Linked DNA regions of Homo sapiens: region 1 is linked to region 2. The links are contacts of gene promoters, found by promoter capture Hi-C in human tissues and cell types (Jung and others, 2019). All regions are on one chromosome and are shown on one strand. The core of a region is centred on a gene start or on the middle of the fragment in contact, and the rest is flanking DNA. Distances in the headings are between cores, read along the strand shown. Region 1 overlaps RNF38 (ring finger protein 38). Region 2 holds the start of ZBTB5 (zinc finger and BTB domain containing 5).

Region 1 (2,700 bases), core at 165-2,664, 1.1 Mb before region 2:
TTTCTCCACGTTGGTCAGGCTGGTCTCGAACTCCTGACCTCAGGTGATCTGCCCGCCTTGGCCTCCCAAAGTGCTGGGATTACAGGCGTGAGCCACTGCGCCCGGCCTGTTTTTTTTTTAAAGACAGTCTCACTCTGTCATTGAGGCTGGAGTGCAGTGGCACGATCTCAGCTCACTGCAACCTCCACATCCCGGGCTAAAGAGATGCTCTCACCTAAGTCTCCCAAGTAGCTGGGACTACAGGTGCACACCACCATGACCAGCTAATTAAAAAAAAATTTTGGAGATACAAGGTCTCACTATATTGCCCAGTTTGGTCTCAAACTCCTGGGCTCAAGCAATCCTTCCACCTCGGCCTCCCACAGTGCTGGGATTACAGGTGTTGAGTCATTACGCCTGGCTAACAAACATGCTTTTAAAATGCAGTGCTAAATGCAGGGGAAAAAAGGGAAATCATCAAGGACTCAGAAACTGAGGAAAACTGAAGACCAAATTTGTATTTTTGATGCTCTCAAGAGGAATAGAAGATAAGGCCTTATGACTGAGACCCCTACATGAAGTAGTCAAAATTTCCAAAGTAGTACACTTAAAAAGGAAGACAAGAAAAAGTCATTCCAGTGGAAAAGAGAAGGAAACGTCAATAAGGAAATGTCTGCTCTGTGTTGACTTCGAGTGGAAGTGGGTTTCTCCCGTGAGAATTCAAACTTAGGTTCACTCCTCACACCCTATTTGGGGTTCAGATTTTCACGATCCATGCTGTCTGTGAACCTCTAAACATAAAAACATAAAAACTCATCCAGAACTACGCTACTACAAGGTCTCTTTACATGAGTAAATACAAAACTGAATCTGGAAGGATATTCCCACTGCTTTTGTAAACTAAAAATAAAATCCCCCCCAAATGACTGAACTGACTCTCTCTTGACTACAGAGACCCCAGAGAAACTAGAAAAATTGAGTTCTTGGCCTGGACAGGAAGGAAGACTAGATACACCTCATTTTATCTCTCCATCCCCTGCTTCTGGAGTTTAGGCAAAACTGACCAGCATTAATGTTAAAATAGAAATTATAGGACCTAACAGAATGGACTTTTTGTGACAATAAGATACCAAATTATAAACAGGACCTAAGGCCAAGCCAGACAAGGGTTAACTCACACACCCCTACAGGTCACTCTAACCCAGTGTATTGGTTAACAGACTTTCTTATAAGATTCCCTTCTGCTGAATCCAAATTTTTAGACAAAGCTTTACTCTATAAACCAACTGCAAATTACAGAATCTCATCTCTGAATCCACCTAAAATCTTTAAGTCCTCACTTCAAGATATTCTGTGTCTTTTCGGTTTGAAACAATGTATACTTTCCATGTATTGATTTATGACTTTGTAACTCCTGCCTCCCTAAAACTGTAATTCGACTGTAGTGGGTACATTTCCTTGGGACCTCCTGAGACTGTTTCCCAGACCATGGTCACTCATATTGTCTCAGAATAAACCTCTTTAAAATGTTTTCACAGAGTTGGGTCTTTCCATTAATACCTATGCCAGTAGTTCTCAAACCTTCATGCTTCAGAAACACCAGATTGCTTGCTGGCCTCACTCCCCCGTCTCTAATTCAGAAAGTCTGGACCAGAGGTCCATGAACTGTCATCTCTACTATTATCCCAGGTGATGATGCTTGGATAATTTAGATTTTGAATTATCAGGCAGAGAAGTTCTTTCCCTCCTCTCCTTGTTGATTCTAGGCCAGTGGACCAACTTTTCAAAGTACCAAGTGTTGACAATTTAAAATTCATAAGATGTTGATTCAAATCTGGTACAAGTACTGTCTCTATTATTTAATAATATAGAACGTTGTACAGACATTACAGTATAGAACACTGCTACAGATTTAGGGATCAAGGGAGGTCAAAGAGGTCATAATGGGAGGAAGGAAGGAAAGGCAGGTTTTATGCTTAGCATTAAATCTGATAAAAATGAGTCTAGGAGTACACCTCTATTAACACCAAACCATTTTTATTACCAAAACATCAACAGAAGTGAAATGAACCTGAGGCAGGCATAAGAATGCATTCCATAATTCCAGATGAACAAGTCAGAAGTCATTAAAGGCTAAAGAAAAACAATTTTATATGTAATATATATCTTGGGTTTATATATATATCAGCAAGTCTTAGAGATAATAGGAGATGCTGAGCCAGACAAACTTTTCCCAAAACAGAAACAGGTTTCAAGTTCTACTCAGTGACTACAACATGCCTCTAATGGCAACCACTAGTGAGCCCTAAGGACTTCCTTCCCAAAGCAGCAAAGAGGCAACTTGTGTGGGGAAATGGAATTTCTCAAGAACCTGGTCCTCTTTCTAATCAGTCAGGACTACTCTTCACCTTAGATTTACAAATAAGCACAGCATGAGTTAAGAATCTTCAATTCTCCTTTAAACTCCCAGACTTTCTCTACTTGCCTTAATTACCTTTAACAAAAATGAAGTTTCTTATTCCACAATTAAGGAAAAACAGTTAAATGCAAAGGGCCCAGGAAGAGCAAACTCTCACTAAATTTTATTCATTTTAAATAAATGTGAAAACACTTAGAAATCAACACTCTATATAAGCAACTTGTTACTAAAAAATAAGACAAGATCCTTTTTTGTTTTGCAGAAGATGGATATAAGCTGGGGAAAGCAGAAAATTAAGAATT
Region 2 (2,700 bases), core at 121-2,620:
GAACTATTAGCTTACTGCCAACCACCGTCCCCACAGAAATCACAAGAGTTTAGGCAAATGAAAAGCAAGTTCTGCCCAGCCTTTTACATCTAAGCACAACAGCCCATACTAGGACAACAAATTACCAATGACTTAATGACTAAGGCACAGCATTCTCTTCAACCTCTAAAGAAAAGCCCGTAATGTCCTCTACTTAATACAAGTGAAAAATATGAGAACATGTTTTGGAATATTTTTGCTTCAATTTTTGAAGGTGAAGAGTTCCTTCTATTAATTCAAGTTAACTAGAGTCAGAAGATACTACTTAGTAATCAACTTTACTGTGCTTTCACCTAAAATTTTTCCTCCAAATTATTTAGGATTTGCCTTCTGTTCAGAAAATTAGTTTCCACAATATCCTTCACTATGCCAGAATGCTGACTGACTTAAAAAAAAATGACCATTATGAAAGGAAAAAACTAACCTTCAACACCCCTTAATTCACTGCCTTTTATTATTTACATACAAATCTGTCCTCCAAACAGGAGAAGATGGGACGGCAGTGTCTTACCACCGCATCCCCCACAGCTCCTCGCACGAAGCCTGGGAGTAGTGGGCATTCAATAAATGCCTATTAAACACTTCAGTCCTCTCATAACAAGTTGGGGCATTCCGAAACACTGGCTCCACCCCTCCAGGGTCGGCCGCTGGCTCCCGATGGCAGTCTGCCTATGGCCTTGCTCTGGTGAAATGAAACCTCGTCGCTCAAGACCCAGGATGGGGGCAAGGGAGCCGTCCGACCACATCCCGCAGGGCAGCAGATCCTCTCTTCATCCCGCCAGGCCGCTGGTCCTGAGGCCTTTCCCACCCCATTCGGGAACCTACGTCGCCAGCCGGGGATCCACAGGAGTACCAGCCCCCGCCCCACCCCGCAGACAGCCTGGCGTCGGGACACCGGGGACGCCTGCGCAGAAGAACCCGCCTGGCCCCTTGGCTCCAACGGTAACAATGCTCCCCTCCGAAAGACAGCCAGAGTAGTCCGGGGGCACCAGTACACGTCTGCGCGCTCCCCGACGCCTTGGCGCGCCCCTGGTGCTCAACCTTCCCCACGTGAGCGCGCCCGCCATCACGATACTCGCTGACGGGGTCTCCTCACCTGAGTCGGGCTCCGCCCCCCTCCTCCTCGCTGAAGGAGGCGGTGACCCCTCTCCGATCGGACTCGGCAGTGTCAGAGGAGGTGGGAACGTCCTGACCAGCGTCTCCGTTACGGGACTTCCTCCCCCTTCCACCCGCCCCCCTCCCACCCCGCCTCTAGTCCCCTAGCTCCTCCAGCCAGTTCGCCGCAGCACTCTGAGAACACGGCGGCGGCGCCCGAGGATAAGCGGAAGTGACGTAATGCAAGAGCGCCTACTCCGCCCCATTCCGCCTCTCCCAGTTGGGCTGCAACCAATCAGCAATGGGAAGGGCGGGGCCGGGGTAGGAGTGCAGCCAGCCGGCGCGCGGAACCTGGAGGAATTTACTTAGCCCCCGGAAAAACTGACCAATCCACGGTCCCTGAAGTCTGGTTGTGTTTACTACCGACTGAATCCGTGAGCTCTCTGACCAATCACCCTTTGCCTTACAACATGTAAAACGGTTATCAAATGCCTTTTAGGGCGGGATTTATCACTAAACTGCTCCAGGTTTGGACTATAGAAATGCGGCTGTTCGCTGCAACCAATCAAAACCCTCTGTGGTTTAGGCTAGCGGGCTTTCCGCCTAAATCCGCCAATCACAACAACGACTGCGTGATGTCTGAGGGCGCCGGAGAGGCGGGCCCTCAGGGCAGGCCGTACCGCCATTGGCTGGTTCTGAAGGATTTTTCCACCCTCGTGGTGCCCGGCGCTTTAGTGACCCAGGGCTCTTCTCCGGGGTGAATTCCCTTCGCTGAACACACACACACACACACACGTAGAGGGCTGGAGATTGAGTTCCCACTTCATAGACGTTGGGAAAGATAAGATTCCAAAAAGCTCTTTAGGTTTAACTAAGCCAAAGTCCAGGGTGAAAACCGCGAATAAAAAACGCTGTCCATCGGATGGCAGTTAGGTCGGACCCCGCCCCTCGTCCAGTCCGGGTGGCTGCGCGTCTGGAAACGGTGGCGCCCCAGGAGCCCGGCGCTTGGCCCCGCACTCGGCTGCAGGTCAAATAAGCCTGTAGTCTGCATGCCCAGATTTATAATCACCTGCACTCCCCCCACAAAAAAATAGGAAGCGCTAAGCTCTCCCACTCCTGTCCCAAACGTGGAAGGGTCGCGGACTTGTATGGGACGCGGTCTGAAAAAAGCGAGCCCCGGGGCGACGCTCGGGTTTCCAGGTGCACCCTCGGAGGGAGAACCCGATCCCTGAGCATCGGACACTGGGGCCAGGGAAGAAACCCCCTTTCCTAGGGTGAGGACGGCAGAAGAAAGCTGCCTTCTCCGGCGCAGCGTGTCTGGGAGCGCTGCGTGGCTCTGGAGACAAAGGCAGGCCCGCGAACTCAGCTGGGTTCTTCTGGGGGTGGGGGTAAGGGTCTTGGAGGAGCTCCCAGAAAAATGGAACTCCCAGCCGGGCGCGATGGCTCACGCCTATAATCGCAGCAATTGGGAAGGCTGAGGCGGGCAGATCGCCCGAGATCAGGAGTTCGAGACCAGCCTGGCCAACATGGTGAAACCCTGTCTCTACTAAAAGTACAAAAATTAGC

Evidence for each region. The method cuts DNA at HindIII sites, captures the fragments that hold promoters and counts their contacts. A contact is called where the count stands out against the background at its distance.
Region 1: a fragment that was not itself captured here is called in contact with the fragment with the promoter of ZBTB5 in region 2 in 1 of the 25 tissues and cell types used here (dorsolateral prefrontal cortex).

The regions. Positions count from the first base shown.
Region 1 is chr9:36,380,393-36,383,092 of GRCh38, forward strand. The region is part of intron 2 of RNF38 (ring finger protein 38); the gene reads right to left. Among named protein-coding and RNA genes, the nearest start is that of RNF38, 19 kb to the right of the region's middle. The HindIII fragment of the contact is 8,504 bases long and covers 1-2,700 here.
Region 2 is chr9:37,464,080-37,466,779 of GRCh38, forward strand. ZBTB5 (zinc finger and BTB domain containing 5) reads right to left here and starts at 1,371. Exons shown (of 2, transcript NM_014872.3): 1 at 1,136-1,371. RefSeq lists enhancers at 293-978, 979-1,664, 1,665-2,350, 2,351-2,700 and a silencer at 1,199-1,298. The HindIII fragment of the contact is 10,232 bases long and covers 1-2,700 here.